7 separate regions of the Homo sapiens genome follow, and all the other regions are linked to region 7. The links are contacts of gene promoters, found by promoter capture Hi-C in blood cells and fetal thymus (Javierre and others, 2016). All regions are on one chromosome and are shown on one strand. Each heading gives the region's core, a stretch centred on a gene start or on the middle of the fragment in contact. The rest is flanking DNA. Distances are from core to core; before and after follow the strand shown.

What was found. Contacts are between HindIII fragments. The CHiCAGO score rates a contact against its expected background, and 5 or more counts as called.
Region 1: a contact is called between a fragment that was not itself captured here and the fragment with the promoter of BLOC1S5 in region 7, in 4 of 17 cell types (M2 macrophages, monocytes, M1 macrophages and 1 more). The highest score is 8.8, in M2 macrophages.
Region 2: a fragment that was not itself captured here is called in contact with the fragment with the promoter of BLOC1S5 in region 7 in 2 of 17 cell types (total CD8 T cells and non-activated CD4 T cells); the score reaches 6.9 in total CD8 T cells.
Region 3: a fragment that was not itself captured here is called in contact with the fragment with the promoter of BLOC1S5 in region 7 in 5 of 17 cell types (M2 macrophages, M0 macrophages, M1 macrophages and 2 more); the score reaches 8.9 in M2 macrophages.
Region 4: a contact is called between a fragment that was not itself captured here and the fragment with the promoter of BLOC1S5 in region 7, in 2 of 17 cell types (erythroblasts and megakaryocytes). The highest score is 8.2, in erythroblasts.
Region 5: a fragment that was not itself captured here is called in contact with the fragment with the promoter of BLOC1S5 in region 7 in 3 of 17 cell types (M2 macrophages, monocytes and megakaryocytes); the score reaches 6.6 in M2 macrophages.
Region 6: a fragment that was not itself captured here is called in contact with the fragment with the promoter of BLOC1S5 in region 7 in 3 of 17 cell types (activated CD4 T cells, total CD8 T cells and naive CD4 T cells); the score reaches 5.4 in activated CD4 T cells.

What each region holds. Positions count from the first base shown.
Region 1 is chr6:7,643,638-7,646,337 of GRCh38, reverse strand. No RefSeq gene overlaps it. Among named protein-coding and RNA genes, the nearest start is that of SNRNP48, 55 kb to the right of the region's middle. The HindIII fragment of the contact is 1,855 bases long and covers 405-2,259 here.
Region 2 is chr6:7,583,656-7,586,355 of GRCh38, reverse strand. It overlaps DSP (desmoplakin), which reads right to left. Exons shown (of 24, transcript NM_004415.4): 24 at 1-2,700. The coding sequence ends at 478. Among named protein-coding and RNA genes, the nearest start is that of SNRNP48, 5.2 kb to the left of the region's middle. The HindIII fragment of the contact is 1,733 bases long and covers 550-2,282 here.
Region 3 is chr6:7,622,137-7,624,836 of GRCh38, reverse strand. No RefSeq gene overlaps it. Among named protein-coding and RNA genes, the nearest start is that of SNRNP48, 33 kb to the right of the region's middle. The HindIII fragment of the contact is 2,859 bases long and covers 1-2,700 here.
Region 4 is chr6:7,670,274-7,672,973 of GRCh38, reverse strand. It overlaps LOC105374906 (a long non-coding RNA gene), which reads right to left and starts at 325. Exons shown (of 4, transcript XR_926437.4): 1 at 144-325. The HindIII fragment of the contact is 2,548 bases long and covers 115-2,662 here.
Region 5 is chr6:7,686,733-7,689,432 of GRCh38, reverse strand. All of the region lies in intron 2 of LOC105374906 (a long non-coding RNA gene), which reads right to left. Among named protein-coding and RNA genes, the nearest start is that of BMP6, 38 kb to the left of the region's middle. The HindIII fragment of the contact is 996 bases long and covers 837-1,832 here.
Region 6 is chr6:7,599,840-7,602,539 of GRCh38, reverse strand. It overlaps SNRNP48 (small nuclear ribonucleoprotein U11/U12 subunit 48), which reads right to left. Exons shown (of 9, transcript NM_152551.4): 5 at 1,016-1,204. Among named protein-coding and RNA genes, the nearest start is that of SNRNP48, 11 kb to the right of the region's middle. The HindIII fragment of the contact is 2,614 bases long and covers 1-2,573 here.
Region 7 is chr6:8,062,981-8,065,680 of GRCh38, reverse strand. It overlaps BLOC1S5 (biogenesis of lysosomal organelles complex 1 subunit 5), which reads left to right and starts at 1,292. Exons shown (of 5, transcript NM_201280.3): 1 at 1,292-1,416. The coding sequence starts at 1,305. It overlaps BLOC1S5-TXNDC5 (BLOC1S5-TXNDC5 readthrough (NMD candidate)), which reads left to right and starts at 1,267. Exons shown (of 13, transcript NR_037616.1): 1 at 1,267-1,416. The region is part of intron 3 of EEF1E1-BLOC1S5 (EEF1E1-BLOC1S5 readthrough (NMD candidate)); the gene reads left to right. RefSeq lists enhancers at 1,659-1,848, 1,458-2,084. The HindIII fragment of the contact is 8,031 bases long and covers 175-2,700 here.

The DNA of each region.
Region 1 (2,700 bases), core at 83-2,582, 420 kb after region 7:
CCTTCTTGTCTTACTCTCCCTACCCCCTCATTTCTACTTCCAGGGATTATCTTCCAAATAAACTACCTGCTCTCAAGTGAGCAAGCTCTTCTTTCAGGACATCATCTCCAGGAGTGTGGTACTTGTCCAGGATATCAGATGGGACTCTTCCAGTTGAAAATGGCAGAAAACCCAGCAGAAAATATATTTTGATAAATTGGAAAGGGTGGCCTCATTTACCTGAAAAGTCTAAGGATGGAATTGACTTCGGGTACTATAAGGCATAGATTTAAAATATCACAACGCCATCTTTTGGCTCAGATAGATCTGCTGTCCTCCTTATGGTCAGCTTTATACTCAAGTAAGTTCTCTCTCTGTGGTCATAAGATGGCTATAGTCATTCCAGATCTTCTCTTCTTTAAGCTTCAATTCCAACTAGAAAGAGCAAGAATATCTTTCCCAGAGAGTTTAGAAAAAGCCCCACGGTGTATCTTTGGCTTTCTTTGGGTCACATGTAGATACCAAATTGGATGTTCCACATCTAGATATGAATGTATCATTGAGGGAATCAGGATGAGGTGACCTCCCCAGGGGAAATCACATAGAGTTGTCAGAATAAGAGTAAATACTGACTGGGTGGCAAAATACAACTGAAATCCATTACATCCCCTCTTTTGGCTTCCTGGAACACCATACACATACATCCTTCCTTCCACACCTTGCAAGTTTCTGTACTTACTTAAAATAAACTCCCTACTTGTCCAAAAAAAAAATCATCCAAGTCTAATCCAGCATCAAGCCTAAGATCTCTGGATGATATGCAATTTTGTCAGTCAAGGCAAAATATCATGCCTCATAATAATTTTGACAACCCCTAATTCATTCAATGTACCATGGTGGAGAGAGAACAAGAGAATGGCCATAAAGCCACCACTTGGGAAAGGCAAGAACGAGAAAAATTTACAGTATTCACCAATCCAGAGCACATGTCATGGCCTGCTCAACAAGAATAACAAGACTGAATTACTGCCTGGCGTTGGACTTTCATCCTTGGTTAGGCAGCCTGGATGCCCTGGGAGGCTCCCCCCTCCCCATTTTCTTCCATAGCCCATGGAAGCAAGAGCCATGCTTACATGGAACATATAGTTAGAATTCATTTGGTTCCAAAAGACCAAAAATCCAACCCAACTAGGCCTTTGGAAAAATGTAATTTACTAGCTAAGATAACAGAAAAGTTCAGGGGTAGCATTGGGTTCAAGGGTAGTTTGCTGCAACCAACCCCTGTTAACCAGGACCCAGCTTCTCTTCAGCACATGGTCAATTAGCCATGGCCTATTCTGTGTTTTGGCCTTATTTTCAGAGAGTCTGTCTTCCTGATCCTGAGATTTCTACAGAAGATCTAGATTGTGTATCTTTTAGGTTTTAAGCTCAATAGGATTTTACTTTATTTGCCCTGGTTGTGTCATATTCAGTCCCTGGTTGGGAACTGAAATATCCTGATTGCTCAGACCTCAGTCATATGTTCCACACCCCGAAGAAGCCAAGGCCACCTGAAGGAGATAGAATGGAAGTGCATTAGGGGTGGTTCCCCAGAAGGATATTGGGGTGTGGTTATGAGAGAAGAGTGAATGGATGCTGGGCAGTAAGGCACATCAACCGGATCCAGAGGCATGGGGACGTCCTGACTCACACATACACCCAGACCAGGATCTCTATCCCTGGCTTTCTAAATAACATTCAGGTTGACCTGGAGCTGGTGCTGCTGCACTCAGCTGAGAACTCAATAAATGAGTGATTCACCTGAGGCCAGTGAGTACATGATGCCAAGGTCCCAATCAGGAAGGAAGTTGTTGAAAGAAGGCATGGATGTTGCATATGCCACAGGGCATTGCAGTGTCTCTGACTGTCCTGACCTTGTCTGGAAAGTTCTTTTCTGTTTGTCACCCTCTAAGAGCTGGATATGGTTGTGTGTTCCAAAGATGCAATTTTACAAAGGCTCAAGCTCTCAAAGTTGCTCCAGAGGATTGGGGTTGCGGGTGGTGGGTAGTCAGGTTGTAATTCCGTATGTTCATGCTCAAGCTCAATGCCAAGAAGAACTCACAGCTAGAGAATAATAGAATCAAAAGATAAATATGGTATATCTTTTCAGAAAATCTATTTTGCTTAATAGAAAGTAATTTAAAACATTACTTATATAACAAACAGATGTATAATGGAGTAGATTGAAAAGTTTACAATAATTTTAAGATAAGCGGTAAATTTCAAAGAAATATTCAAGCTTGCTGTGGAGACCCAAACTAAAATAACTTGCATAACAAAGAGGGGAAAAAACACCTTTTTTGGATGGGCGCGGTGGCTCACGCCTATAATCCCAGCACTTTGGGAGGCCGAGGCGGGCAGATCACCTGAGGTTGGGAGTTCGAGACCAGCCTGACCAACATGGAGAAACCCTGTCTCTACTAAAAATACAAAATTAGCCAGGCATGGTGGCACATGCCTGTAACCCCAGCTACACGGGAGGCTGAGGCAGGAGAATCGCTTGAACCCAAGAGGCGGACATTGTGGTGAGCCAAGATCACACCATTGCACTCCAGCCTGGGCAACAAGAGTGAAACTCCATCTCAAAATAATAATAATAATAATAATAATAATAATAACAACTTTCTCTTTCAGGCAGAGATGAAGAAGCATGATCCTCATCTAAGAAGTTAATCCTCTCAG
Region 2 (2,700 bases), core at 167-2,666, 480 kb after region 7:
CTTGGTTTTGGGTTGGGGGTTTGAGAGGGGGGCTGGTGCTGGGAGGGTAATTTTCTCCTAATACAGAATATGGAAATATTTAGATGAGAAGCAGAATGACTAAAATATCAGTGATCCATTTAATTTTTATCTCCAAGAATAGAAAACTGTATTATAGGCTTCCAAAATTAAAGAATTGATCAAAAATCGAAACACAGAAGAGAAGAAACAAATCCTAAGTTCGATTTGTGCTATTGTTACAACTGATTAGCACTTCAGACGCACTGCATCCAAGTGTACTGCTTATTTAAGATGAGCTAAGAAGATAAAAAGCCAGAACAGCCTTTACTATTTGATTTCAATCATGGCTATATTTTCTGTAAGCATAGAATGTCCTATCACTCTACTGCAAGCACCGGGATTTTCTTTTCTATTATTTAATAAAGTGGAAATTCATATAAATGAAGTCAAGGTATAGCAACCACTCCCAACTGACTACTAGTGCCCAATAGAACTACTGCTAAATGAGTAGGAATAAGAGTAGGAAGAATTCCCTGTGGCGTCAAAGCTTCCTCTCCGGGACCCACTGCGGGACCCGGAGCGAGATCCGGAGCGAGATCCCGAGCGGGAGCCGGAGCGGGACCCCGGAGCCGAAGACATGTTGTAAGGGCTGGGTAAGCCCTTGGACGACACGGAGGCGGCTTCCAGAAGGCGCAGCCCAGTGATATCTTCTACCATGGAGCGATTTATGGCATCCTTATAGGATATTTTTAATTTGGTTTTGGGGCAGGTCAGGATTTTGGCATAGCTGCTGGTGTCTTGCAGCCTCTGTGCGGCGCGGCCATCTATGAACCCCTTCCGGATGGCTTCTTCGGTGCTTATCCTCCCATGCACTTCCGGGTCAACAAGACCTCCCGTGAGGTACTGGAACTCCAGGAAGCGCTGGCCAGCCTCATACGGGAGCCATTTTTCTTTCACTGCCTCTGCTGCTGACATCTTCTTCTTTCCCTTCACACCCTCGAAGCCTATGAAGGCTTTCTGAGCAGGCTTCAGCCTGGTGGCCATGTCTTGGTCAATCACACCCTGGGAGACTGCGTCCTGAAGTGACAGCTTCTGGCCCGTGGTTGGGTGGATGATGCCACCTGTGCAGGCCTGAGCCTCCAGAAGCCTCTGACCCGTGATGCTGTCAACGATGCCCCGCTCTATACCTTCTGTAATGGAGATTTTCTCCAGGTTTTCTGTGTCAAAGATGGCTGCAATGGGGCTCGATTCTTCCAGGGTGTCTGAAAAAGAGCTGCTCCTTATGGTTAAATTCCTGACGCTGGATATGGTGGAAATCTTACTTACTGATTCATGTCGGGAGCTGCTAAAAACATCATCGCTGACACCACTGCCCATGCTGCTGCTGGTGCCGACACCATTTTTCAAGGAGATCATGTCAGCAAATTGAGTGAGGCTGAGGCTGCCGGATCGGTACTGATCAAAGAACTTCCTGTCAACAAGGCCCTTGTCAATAGCATCTTGAATATCATACTGACTGCCTGTCTTTCTATCTACCAGGACCACCCTGGTGGAGCCATCTGATCCCGTGATGGTTATTTCTTCCCATTCACATTCCTGCTCACACAGTTCTTTGAAGGTTTCATAATCAATTAGGCCCTTCTTGTAGGCCTCCTGAACAGACATTTCTTTATTGGTTTCTGGGTCAACTATGACCACTCTACGCTTCCTGAGGGTATTCTTTTGTGATGTCTGCACCTGTTTCTTCTTTTCTTTCAGAGGCAGAAGACAGAGCCCTGTTTCCTCATCCTTAATGCATCTTTCTTTTAGTTGCAGATAGGTAAGATTTTCTTCAGTGTTGGGGTCAAAAAATCCTTTGGTATCATCACTTGGATCTGAGAGAATCTCACTGAGTTCCTCATTGAAATAGCCCCTCTTATATGCTATGTCAACTGGTAAACGATGGCTCTCCTTTGGGTCAATGATCCCCCCGGTTGCGATCTGTGCTTCTAATAAGCGAATACCGTGGCCCTTTTCGATGAGTTCCTTATTCATGGCTTGGAACAAAGAGATGATGTTTCCTGTTTCAGGATCATTATACCCAGTGACAGCTCGTTCTGCAGACAGGAGCTTCTCTTTGAACTCAATGCCCACCAGACCTCTCTTGTAGGCTTCCTCCACTGGTAACCTCAAGTTGCTAACAGGATCCACTATAAAGCCAGTAGCTGCTTGGGCTTCCAGCAACTCCAGAGCAGTACCAGGTCGGACTAAGCCAATTTTCATGGCCTCATAAATGCCAAGCTTCTGTTTTGTGGTCTCATTGTATATGCCTGCTATGCAGCTTGAACCCTGGAGGAAGTCCTTAATTCTCTCACCAACCTCGTCATAAGAAATCTGACCAGATTCCAGTTCATTGACAGTGGACGGTCTCAATATACCAGAATCTACTAGCTCAGTGACGGTCACAGGTTGTCTGATTCCTTGGAAGGACATGCTTCTCTTCTGTACTGAAAGCAAGAGCAGACCAGTATGTGGTTCGATTCTGCACCGTTCCTTCAGCTGCACGTAACTGACCTTCTTTTTGGTGACTGGATCCACAAAGTTTTTCTGACTATCTCGGGGATCATTCAGGGATCGATACAAATCTCTATCAATCAGCCCCCGGGCCAAGGCGACATCTTTTGGCAAAAAGACACTGTTCACAGGGTCTACTACACCCCC
Region 3 (2,700 bases), core at 123-2,622, 440 kb after region 7:
ATGGCCTTCCTCAGCTCTATTTGTTGAAGTTATCTTAACATTAGTGACTTCATTTTGATTATGACAACTTTCACAATAGTAATACAATATTTCCTATTTTTGCTATTATAATATGCTAACAACTTGTAAATAGTTCTGTGTGAGTATTTCTAGGGGATACATTCCTAATTCTAGTAGTGAAGTCAAAGGACACACACATATGGGTGAAGTGGTGTTTGATACTTTATTTTGCCCTTACCTGATTACCGGTAGGAGTGGGTATCTTTTCACATGTTTGTTAACCGCGCTCCAGTCCTTCTCCCTTTTTCCTCTTCTGTGAATCCACCAACTATGGTTGTGGCCCATTTTGCCTCCAGGTTACTTTTCTTTTTCTTGACTCGTATCGCTTTCTCTGTATCACGGCTATTAACCGCTCTGTGATTATATCTGTTATACATATTTTCACCCAGGGTGTTGTAGCCTATTAGTTCATCATGCAAAAGTATTAACATTTTACTAATCAATTCTCACAGTCTTTTCCTCTGGCATTTTGTGTCTTGCTTATAAGAAGGTTTTTTTCTACACCAACATTATGGAAAACAGTCCTCATTATCCAAGTATACTCGGTACCAAGGAAAGATGGCTTAGAGTGAGCTCCATTAAAAGGGGTAAAATGTTTTCATAACAAATAATTTTTAAAAAGAGTTTTGGGTTGAAATAATCAAAAAAGAGTTTTGGTTGAAATTTTATGGGGGACATGAAATTAAATGTGTTTTAATCCTATATCTAACAAAATTTTTGTTATAATTTCAACCATATACTAATTTTCAAAATGAACAAGAAGTAAATCAGACTTTTTCAAAAGAAGGTAATATTTCTGGTAAAATTTTATGATTGTGTAAGATCATTGCCTTTACTTTTTACAGCACGGTCATTTTAACAGCAACAAAAAAAATTTGCTTTATGAGTTCTCCCGAGGGTCTCTCTGCATCTTTTGATGTTCAAATCATCCCCTTTTCAAGAATCCAACCTGATTTTTTGGTCAGCTTTCTCTTTTTCATTTCTCAACTTGTCTCTCCCTCTTCCGGAGCCTCATTTGCATCATGACAGCTTTGCAGGGGGGTTGAACAGTGATCCATCATCATTTTCATCAACTTCATGAAAAACCCCTACCTGTTTTGCTAGATGGACCTTGTCATTATGCAGTCCCTGTGTTCTGGCATCATGGCATTGAGTGTTTACAACACCAGACTGTCATCAGAGATATTTGGCATCTGGGACACACGTTGTTTGAGCAGGGGAAGAATTTTTTTTTTTTTTTTTTTTTTTGTGATGGAGTCTCATTTTGTCTCCCAGGCTGGAGCGCAGTGGCACAATCTCGACTCACTGCAGCCTTCACTTCCCAGGTTCAAGTGATTCTCTGCCTCTGCCTCCTGTGTAGCTGGGATTACAGGCGTATGCCACGATGCCCGGCTAATTTTTGTATTTTTAGTAGAAATGGGGTTTCATCATGTTGGCCAGGCTGGTCTCGAACTCCTGGCCTCAAGTGATCCACCCACCTCTGCCTCCCAAAGTGTTGGGATTACAGGCATGAGCCACCATGCCTGGCCGAGCAGGGGAAGATTTTATTTGTGGTCATTAAATATTTTCATGATGTGTCTATTTTTGTTTTTGTGTAACTAACTCTATAACTTCAGGAACTCAGAAAATGAGTAGCAGGATAGTGAGGGCTCCTGGAGGCTACCATTCCATTTAATTCTCCCAATATTGAGGATGTCTGCCCAGCATCATTCTAGGCATAAGTAAGGACCCTTGTCAGCGGCATTCCCTTCACCTGAAGCACATGCTTCTTTTCCTATTGCAGGAACTGCACACATTGACCGACTTCCCCACCCCACCCCAACCCACTCACACACATACCACCACTGCCACCCACTGTTTTTCTTCTAATAATTCCATAACAACCTTGAGAACTTATTTCCGAAAACACTGGGGATAAACCTAGTTGGGGATAAACCCAAACTTAATATCTGTGAGAAAGTAAAATCTTGGTCAGAGCACAAATTTAGATGTGAATGACATTATGAATGAATGGGCTTCATTCTCTCACTTGACAAATTGGGGGATGGGGCCCACACGGAGAAGAAAGTGAACCCCTGCCTTCTTCCAGCTCTAGCATCTGTACTTCAGCGACTGATTACCTTGAGTCAGGGACTAACTCAGGTTAGACCAAGTTCCCAGGTTATTCCACGTTAAACAGCTGTGCCTGAGTCTCGGCTCATGCTTGGCACCATAGAGAAGGGAAAAAGCTGGCAAGGCCTTGGCCCAGGCTCTCAAGGGTCTTACTGTCTAGTTGTGGGGATAATAAGTAACATCACAACAAATGTAGGAAGGATCATTTGGAAGCGTATTGGGGACAGGCCATGTGGAGTGGGGCAGTGGACTTCACTCTAGGTTCCTCAGAACCCAGGGAGCTCCATGGAGTTTCCTTTGGTGTCACCATGAGAAGGACCAGGCTCTAGGCTGACCCCCACCCACCCAAACTTAAACTGCAGCAACTGTTTTCATCAGGCTTATGTGTTAGATGCTCTTGAAGGTGATTTGAAGAAAATATCCTGTTTTTAAATACTGAAAAGCAGTGACCTAGAGCAGAGCTCATCAAATGGCAGCCTGGGGGCCAAATCTTGCTCATCACCTCTTTCGGTAAATGAAATGCCATGG
Region 4 (2,700 bases), core at 139-2,638, 390 kb after region 7:
TTCTACGGTGACTACGTGGTCCTTCCAATTGATCGGCTTTCTGAATAAGCCCGATCCCTTTGGGAAGACCATGGTGAGCAGTGTGCTGGGGTGGCTCTTGGACTCAGACAAGCTTGAGTGCAAGTTCTTGCCACGCTACTTACTGTGTGATCCCAAGTAAGCTGCTTAACCGTTCTGGGATACAAAGACAACACCCCCTCCTTGGGTGGTTGTTAGGGTACGTGCAACGGAGGCATGGAAAACCCTTAGCACAGATCCTGGCCCGCCGTGGCTGCTGTCACTGAGGTCGTGTTGTGGCCGCGGCTGCTAAGAGCACTGTCAGCATGGGAGAGAGTGGGCTCAGCCCGGTTATGATTCTCCTGCTGGATCACGTGGCACACAGGAGACTCAACAATGCAGCTACAATACAACCACTCCCATTTCTCAATTTGAAAAACAAGCCCTGCTTCTTCTTTTGATCAAAAGTGATTCGTTCATTCACTTGAACAGCTACTGTGTGCCAACCACCGGGACCCGCACTGGAGGTGGGGAAATATCTAAAGATATTGAAGACATCTTTCCTGGCCTCAAGGAGCTTTTGGTCTAAGTTTTCCTTTAAAGAAAGGCATTTGGGCTGTGTTAATAAGGGGTTAACAGCAGCTCTCTCTGTCTTTATCCATTTGCAGCTCAGCAGCGGTAAATTCTCATCTGAACTGCAATTGACCCTGTGCACACAATCATGTTATTCATATTCTTATAAACAGAGGGTACAGTATGTATAATTTCCTAGATTTCTGGGAGGGGATGTATCATAACTAAACTCCAACTTTTCCTTTGGAGAAACAGTCCCATTTGTTTCTGGTTAGCTTCAAAGCAAAAACTAATTTTTTCCTTCTATGTGTCAGTAACTCGAGTGAAATTTGTCACTTGTTTTTATGAAAAATTCTTTGCCATTACCTTCATTGCTTGAAATAAAAAAAAATTGAAAAGAAAAAAAAAACCACCCACTACAACTCACACTCCCTGCGTGGTACAAGGCACTTGAAACGCAATGACAGAATGGTGGTGTCATTTCTAGTCATGGAAACTAACAAGAGTCTCCCGGAATGGCCTCAAATTCATCCATCAAGAATCTATTTTCTAGTACCTACTATGGGAGCAAGACCACTGGTGACATCTTGTTCCAATTTAAGCAAGGTTGAGCTGTGGGCCAGCTCCTTCAAATCATAACCAGCACAGAAATTGCCTCCTACCAAAAAACCACAAGGGTTAGACTCTGTAAGAATGAATCCCAGAAAAGCTGGAACTCTCAAGTCCAAGCATATTTCTGAAGCAATCCAGTCAAGAACAGCATTTTCATTTTCTTTCTTTGGAGGATTTCTTGTTTGTCCTAGGATGAAGTTGAAGTGTGGTTGGGGATGAAGGAAGAGCAGCTTTATTTTGCTCCAAAAGAACTAACAACTCCTTCACCACCTTACCTTGAGCCAGAGCTATTTAGAAAATGCTCAATCTATTTTTACCTTTCTATATATGTATTTAATAGAGATACCATTTTATTAGTAAATTACCAAAAACATGAGCTGATGCTCTCTCAGCGGTGACTCATCGTGAATGGGACATTTTCCTAGAGACATAGCTATCCCCAGGGAAAAACCTCCTCTGAGCTGTTATTTTCTAATGTGGGGCATGCCTTACTATAGGGCTAAGAGAATTGTGACATTTAGGGAGGTTCCCTGTCTACATCCTGAATTCCAAACGTTATTATATGCACCATGGCTTTGAAGTCTGTTTATTTGACCCCTTTAAGTTCAAGTAGCCAAAGATCGAAGCAACAAATAGGAGTGGCCCTGAGATGACTCGAAGATGTTGGGTACACCCAGGATGAATGAGGAGCAGTCGATTCACATTTAGGATCCACGAGAGTAATGTGTGTGTCACTGTGGGGGATGACAGAAGAGATGGAGGAGGGAGGGAGGGTGCTGAAGGCAGTGGTCCGTGGTGGCCACCATGACCTGGGGCTACCTGCAGTGGCTCCTGTAATGGAGATGGGGAGCACTGGTTGTAGGGAACCAGCTGGCTCTACAGACCCCTGAGATGGTCACTAGTGCAATTGGCTGAATTATGTCCCCCCAAAATTCATATGCTGAAATCTTAACCTTCAGTGCCTCAGAATTTGACTCTATTTGAAGATGGAGCCCTAAAAGAGGTAATTAAGTGAAAGTGAGGCCATTAGGGTGGGACTTAATCTAATCTCACTGGTGTCCTTATAAGAAAAGGAAATTAGGACCCGGAGACACACAGAGGGAGGACCAGGTGGGGACACAGGGAGAAGATGGCATCTACAGCTCAGGAGAGTGGCCCCAGGAGGAACCAACCCTGCCAGCACCTGGATCTTGGACTTCCAGCCTCCCGGCACCTGGATCTTGGACTTCCAGCCTCCCGGCACCTGGATCTTGGACTTCCAGCCTCCGGAACGGGGAAGAAATAAAGTCCTGTGTAACGACCCTAGTCTGTGGCCCTGGCAAACAGTAGTACAATTAGCTACTGGGATTTGCAGAGCCAAATTCTCCTGGAATTGCTGCCAAACTTCAGATGTTTCCAAAATTGTCTTATATAAAGCAAATTGAGAAAAGCCTTTCTTTGGGATTTTAAAATTAGGGAAAATGGTAGTATTTGAGAAGCTTTATGATCACTCATTTATTTCTGCTTTTTCCTCGCCTC
Region 5 (2,700 bases), core at 85-2,584, 380 kb after region 7:
TGTCAGGCCAATTTTAAGACTGATGTCTACCCATACTACGAAAAATAATACTGGAGAAAAATAGATTTCTGGAGATCAGAAAGAAACAGTATGGTGTGCATTTCCCAAATGCATTCAGATTAGCTTTAAACAACAACAACAAAAAGGCTATTTTGTTGGCCAAAAATGTATTTCAAACAAAAAATATGTCAGAGTTCTCTCAACTCTCAGACTTCATTTGAGACCTAGAAGTAATCATAGTGCTTGACCAGTCTAGTCTCCTTATTGTTATTTGGTATATCTATGCTGCTTTACACACAAAACTAACCTGAAATATAAGTAAACCTATCAAGAGTGCAATATTCAATACTGTATGATTTTATCTGCACCAAGTTCAAAAACAGACATAATCTCTAGTGTTGGAAGTCAGAATACTGGTTCTGGAAGATTAAGGGGGTGAGGGAGGGGCTTCTGGTAATGTCCTATTTTTTTTTGTCTTTTTTGGTCTGGTTTTTGAGACAGGGTCTTATTCTGTCACCCAGGCTGGAGTGCAGTGGCGCAATTGCAGCTCACTGCAGCCTCGACCTCCCTGAGCTCAAGCGATCTTCCCATCTCAGCCTCCCGAGTAGCTGGGACCACACACATGTGTCACGATGCCCAGCTAATTTTTGTATTTTGTAGAGACAAGGTCTCTCTGTGTTGCCCAGGCTGGTCACAAACTCGTGGTCTCGAGTAATCCTCCCACCGCCATCTCCCAAAGTGCTGGGATTCCAGGAGTGAGCCACTGTGCCCAGCCTGTCTCTTGATCTGGGTGGCAGTTGGTTAAACACATGACAGTTGTAATAGTTCATCAAGCTTTACAGGTATGATCTGTGCACTTTTATATGTATGTTATACATCAATGTAGAAGTCTACTTCAGAAAAAAAGGAACAAAGATAATCAAATCTAAGTCAAAAAATGGAGAAATAACAACCTGTTTTGCTCTCAATCTAATACAATAATTTAGAAAGACATAAATTCTAAATTCACTTAATTTATGTACAATACAATTAACTTCTCTGATGTGTATTTCTGTGAATCTGACAAGTGCGTGCAGTTAGACCACCATAATCAAGACAGAACAGTTCCATCACCCCCCAAATTTCCTCACACTGCCCTTTTGTAATCAACCCAAGCCCCCATGTTGGACTCCTGGCAACCACTGATCTGTTCCTATAATTTTGTGTTTTCCAGGATGTCATGTAAACAGAATTGTACAAAATGTGTCTTTTAAGTTTGGCTTCTGTCACTTAGTATGAAATTTATCTATGTTGTTACATTAATCAGTAATTTGTTCCCTTTTAGTCCTGAGCAGTATTCCATTATTTGGACATACCACGGTTTGTTTACCCACTCAACAGTTGAAGATATTTGGGTTGTTCCCAGCTTTTGATGAATGTGAATAAATATGCTAGAAACATTCACGCACAATTTTTATATGAACAAAAGTTCCCAGTTCTCTTGGGTAAACACCTAGGAGTGGGATTGCTGCATTGTGTGGAAAATGTGTGTTTAACTTCACAAGATACTGCCAAAGTGTTTTCCAAAGTCGTTGAGCTGTTTGCGTTCCCACCAGCAATGAATGAGACTTCCAGTTGCTCTGCACCCTTGTGAACCTATAAGATCATCTTTTCTCTTTTTTAGTCATTCTAATTGCTGAAGGGGTCATTTTCACAGAAATCGTTTCCTGAAGATTCTGCTAAAGGTATGCATGGCAAGTTGAAAATTCAGGAAGAGATAAAATAATTCGGCTGGTTGATTGAAAGTATTACACTTCCTTGTAAATAATTAACTTATTTTCAAAAGTAAAGCTTTAATCTGATTTTCTTTAATAATTGATACTGAGTATTTAATATTCATTAGCCATTTGTATTTCTTCATATATGAATTCCCTTTCCCATTTTTCTATTATTTTAAAAACAAATTTAAAAGAACTTTTTGTACAGTTTATGGAAATCAGACTGTTTATTGCCATTATGTTGTAAATACATTTGTTTGTGCTTTTACTTTATGAAGATTCCTGCTACAACGAGTTTTTTTAAGTCTATAGTCAAATTTATGATTATTTTCCACTGTGGTTCCTGAGTTTGGTAGTATGGTAGAAAGCTGTTTTCCACTCAAAGATTATTCAAAAGTTCTCACCAATATTTCCTTTTTTTTTCTTAGGACTTCACTTTCTTCTGTGTAAACACTTTTCTATCTAGAATTAATTTGGGGTTCATAATTAATTAAAGTAAGAATATCAACCTAACGAGATTAAAATTAAGTAAGAAAAAAATTTGCAGGTAACAGCTGAAAAACATTTTTTAAGATTAACAAAGGGATAATTTAAATTTAGGTTTGTAAAATCACTTTCATATGATGCCACATTCCAACTTTATAGTCTTTGGAGATCTTTTACTTTTTTCAGTTTTAATTAAAACTGAACGTAATACAGACTTGCTGGGGAAATGTGATATCAATGCCTGCTCTTAACTTACATATTTGAATGTAAATGTAAATTTATTTTTAAAAAAAATTTTTAGAGACAGGATCTTATATGTTGCCCAGGCTGGTCTCAAACTCCTGGCCTCAAGGGATCCTCAAGGCTTGGCTTCACAACGTGCCACGATTACAGATGTAAGCCACTGCTCCTGGCCTTAAATGTAAATGTAAGTGGCATAGTTTGATCTTTAATAGCT
Region 6 (2,700 bases), core at 17-2,516, 460 kb after region 7:
ATATTTTAACTTGTTTCAAAGTAGCACATAAAAACATTCTAAAAATTGTATATTATTTATATACACGGGCTAAGTTTTATATCATTTCTTCTCTCCAGCCATTAGTTGAACATAAGAGTGCTTAGGTACATAGATTAAAGTAACAGCACAGTTGTAATATTTTCACAGAAAGAAGGTACATTTAATGTAAAAGTCAGAGTAAAACCTCAGGTACTGAGTAAATATCCCTCAGTATCCATGCAGAATTTGTTCAGGAACCCCCAAGGATATCAAAATCCATGGATGCTCAAGTCTCTGATATAAAATGGTGTAGTATTTGTATATAACCTACACACACCCTCCAGTACACTTGAAGTCATCTCTAAATTACTTTCAATACCTAATACAGGCCGGGTACAGTGGCTCACGTTGTAATCCCAGCACTTTGGGAGGCCAAGACAGGAGGATCACTTGAGGCCAGGAGTTTGGGACCAGCCTGGCCAGCGTAGCAAAACCCCATCTCTACTAAAAATACAAAAAGTAGCCAGGTGTGGTGGCACATGTCTGTAATCCCAGCTACTCAGGAGGCTGAGGCACGAGAATTGCTTCAGCTTGGGAGGCAGAGATTGCAACGAACTGAGATCGCGCTACTGCATTCCAGCCCGGGTGACAGAGTAAGACTCAGTCTCAAAAAAACAAAACAAAAAAAACACCAAAAACCTGATACGATGTAAATGCTGCATGAATAGTTGTTAATATATTGTTTATGGAATTATGACAAGAATAAAAAGTCTCTACATGTATAGTACAGAGGCAACCACACACTTTTATTTTTTCCAAATATTTTCAATCCACCGTTGGTCAAATTGATGGATATGGAACCCACAGACACAGAGGGCCAACTTCATGTCAATATTAAATGATACAAAACCATTTTACTCTAACTCAAAGTGGCCCAAGAATTAAATCATCTTAATAACACTCATAGAATAAAATGATAATGAAGAAATGTAAAGCCATGATGTGCATCTCAAACCTTGATTGATTTTGGCAGCCAAGTCTACAAAGAGATCGCTGTCATTTTCAATAATTTGAGAATCAGAGCGCTTTTTCTTTGTCTCCTCAACTACGAAATCATAGAGGGCAAGACGATCAGCTTGAGTTAGATCACAAACAAACCGTTTGTGATTCAAAGGAACTTCAACAGGCAATGAAGAATAAATTCCTAAAGTAAAAATAAAATCACAAGAATAAACAATACATGAAGCATTGTGAACTTAAAATCTAATAATTATCTTTAAACATGTGCTTTAATAATGCAATATTAACACAAACTTTTTTCATAATCCCTAAGTATACAAAATATCAATCTAAGCAATAAATGACAAACAATTCTATCCTGAATGTTATATCCACAAAAAAAAAAAAAATGTATTATGGATGTTTGCTATTCTCTCCAACAATATAAAGACAGATCCCATGGAGGCAGGCAGGAATAATCATAAGAGACAATTTGCTCTAAGAAAGCCTTTTGGGTAACAATTTTTATAGCCATCTACAAAAGTAGGTATCTGTTGATATGCTTTTCCCCATCAAAGTTGGGGGAAAAAATGCTTTTAATAAGTAATATGCATTACAGTCCCTTTGAAAATAAACTATGGAAATATTAAAAACTGTGTAAAAAATATCTTTTTGTATGAGACATCAAGCTAGATGGTCAATATTCAAAATATATCCCACTTGTGCAAGGACTTAGAGCTAGGGGCCACAAAATAATTAAGTAGCAGAAATCCCACACCTCCTCACGCCAGGAAAGCACAGATTAAATTAAACTCATTTTAATTTCCTGAGGAGGAAGCATAGTGGCTTAACCAAATTAATTGAAAAAAGTTAATAGCAGTGCCCCCCGGTAGTTACAGAATTTTCTAAAATCTGCTCATTAGTGAAAAAAAGTAAATACAATACCTTGATATGATGTATTAAACATTGAAGAAAATTTTTGTTTTGAGATTCAAATTTTCTCAAATAAAAAAATGATTGGAACTGTAAAAAAAGCAATTTAAAACAATTCTTTCTAGACTTCATTACTCACTAATGCAAACAAAGAACATGAGCTACTAAAGGAATCCTTTTATTGTTTGCTAACTTATTCTAAAGTAGTAACTGGTTCATAGAACAACATAAAATCAGTAGCTCTTTCCAGATACTTATATTTGATAAAGTCTAACCTCATTAAGTTCCTAGGTAGAGGCAAAAAGAATTCAAATAAGAGCATACTATGAACTAAGCATTACAACAAAAAAGAGGTACTACTTGTCTACATATTAAGAGGAGAGCTGCAGTGAATCTGAGGCCATGGTTTAACACGGCTATACATAACAATATATGGCCATTTTTACTCGTCAAAGGGTTTTGAATTAATGGGGAAAAAAGGGTTCCCTTTCAAGTCAATCAATTTTATTCTAATTATAGTAGGCATTTCATAATACAAAATTATAAAAACAGCTTTGATAAGCCTAATTCCTTTGAATTAGGCTATAAAAATTTGGGAGGAAAACACAGATTAGAAAATAATGATGTATTACAAACAAGCTTCATATAAACCTTTGCCTGTTATTTTTAAACAAAGAAATATAATTTCCTTCTTAAATTATTTTAGCCTTTTCTTCAATTTATTCATCTTAAATTTCTTTATGATGAAGACTGATACTTAAATTCCTT
Region 7 (2,700 bases), core at 43-2,542:
ACATGATGTTTCATTGCTATTCGCTTTACTCCCTCAGGTTTCACAGAATGACTCATAGAACTCAAGAAAGTGCTTTCCTTGCTATTACAGTTTTATTATAAAGGACACATATCAGGACCAGCCAAATGAAGAGATGTATAGGGCGAGATGTGGGAGATTTCCCAAATAGAAGCTTACGTGTCCTCAGGAACGCTTCCCCCTCCTGACACTTTGATGAATGATTATCGACCAGTAAGCTCACCTGAGCTTCCACATCCAGAGTACTCACTGGGGTTCCATTATGTAGGCATAGTTGGTTAAATCACTGGCCACATGGCTGAACTCAGTCTCCAGCCCCAATCTGCTCCCCAGAGGTGGGCCTGCTTATGTGACTCAAAGCCTAAGCCCTCATGGTTGGCCGGCCCTTCTGGTGTGGCCAGCCTCCATTCTGAAATCATCTTGGGCCCTCCATGAGCCATCTCATTAGCATAAACTCAGGTGTATTTCCAGAGGCCCACCATGAATAACAAAGACACTTCTATCACTTGGGAAATTCTAAGGATTGAGGGTACCTCCCAGGAACCAGAGTCAAAGTCCAGTCAAATTCTTTATTATACAACGTGAGTTTACTGACTTGAACAGAAAGAGGGAGCAAGAGAAGCATTCTAGGAAACAGGTGTCTAAAAAGAAAGGCAGGAATAGTCAGCCACACTCATGGCATAGTAGGGAAACAGCCCCCAGCTAATTGGCTTTGCTATACAGTAGTCCCCCCTTATCTGAGGTTTCACTTTCTGTGGTTTCATTACCCGCAGGACGGTACAATAAGATATTTTGGGAGAGAGACTACATTCACATAACTTTTATTAAATTGTTCTAATTGTTCATCTCTTACTGTGCCTAATTTATAAACTTTATCATATGTATATACAGGAAAAAACATAGTATATACATGGTTCAGTACTATATGCAGTTTCAGGAATCTACTGGGGGTCTTGGAATGTATTCTCAGCAGATATGGGAGGACAACTGTACTGGAATGCACCAGCTTTGAGCCAAATAACCAGGGCTCTGAGTTTAGCTCCAAAGTTCAAGCACCTTCCTATTCTAGCAGCATCCGCCCTGATCCAGCATGGCGGCAAGAGCTTCTGCCAGTTCACAGCCTGACTACACGGCAGGCGCCTTTCCGGAACCGCCCGCTGGGTAGATTAAATTTCTCCGGCGCCCTGTAATGACACACACACAAAAAAAACCCGGGCGCGCCTTGTAAGAGGGCGGCCGGGTTTGCGCAGGCGCAGCGTGGCCGCGGGTGGGCGGAACTGGTCGGGATGAGTGGCGGAGGGACAGAGACCCCTGTGGGTTGTGAGGCCGCCCCGGGCGGTGGCAGCAAGAAGAGGGACTCCCTGGGGACTGCGGGCTCAGCGCACCTCATTATCAAGGGTACGGAGTGTCAGGGCTATAGTTCCTGGTGGATCCCAGCACAGCCTCATCTCCCAGGCGGCGCCCTCTGACCCGGGCCGACCCCCGGGTCCCGGGCTGGCGCGCGTGCGTTTGTGCGGGTGGGGGAGTCGTGGTCGGTCCCCGCCTTTTTCCCCGCGCCAAATGCGTCCCACCACAACCAACCAGCCCAACTCTTCGTGTTTCCCCGCTTTCCTCTGTCGCAGCCTGAGCCATCAGGCCCGCCCCCGTCCATTCCGCAAGCTCAGGACCCCTGGGCGCAGAGCCTTTGGGCAGCCTCGCCACCGACGTGTAGTGGAAAGGGCATTGGACCTGGGAGGCGGGAGGCAGTCGCTTAGGAGTTGAGTGACTTCGGGTCACTGGCTTTACTCACTCTCCTACCCGATCTGTTCCTGGTCGTGCGAGGAGTAAGTGAGATACACTTACGAAGGCGCTCTATAGCACTGTAAAGAACCATTCACGTTCAGAAATGTCCATGTGTTCTGTGTGCTTTGAGCTGGGAGAAGGTTACAACCTAGATTCTCACAGAATCTGCTTTAGGTTTGACTCCTAAAGCTCACAACGCTGTTTGCTGCGTGAAAGTCTTTGACAGTTGAGTTGTAGTGCTTTATATATACCAGATATAAAGTGCTTATATACAGTGCTTGTATTATTTTTTCTACTTGACATGCTTAAGAAGATATGTACTAATAAAATTCATTAAAATAGAGAATTGAAACCTGCCCATCGTATGTCTGCAAAAATGAAAAATTTGGGGAACATTGCCAGTGAATGAATATGAATAATACATTGTCTTAGATTTAATTTCTCAAGGAATTTTGAGACTTACATTTTAAACTACATAGTTGTAACTAAGAAGAATAATAAACTGACTCACCAAAAGACTTAAATTCAGACCTTTTCTTAATGACTTTTTCAGACTTATGAAAAAGAGACTTACAATGAACATTCACCACCCACCTTAATAAATAAATTACTAAAAGCCCCACTGTGTCTTGCTCTAATTGCACTAGTTCCCCTCCCTCGTCTCAAGGTAGCCACTATCCAGAATTTGGTGTTTATTATTCTTGTGCATTTCTTTATAGTTTTGTTGCTTCTGTCTATATCCCAAAAGGAAATATTTTGAATATTTTAAAGTTTTATGTAAATTGCTTTAATCCTTCTGAAACTTGCTTTTTTATTATATTTATTATAAAATACGTATTATTTTTTATATTTATGTTGATAAGTGTAACTCTGATGTATTTATTTTTACTTGGTGATTGA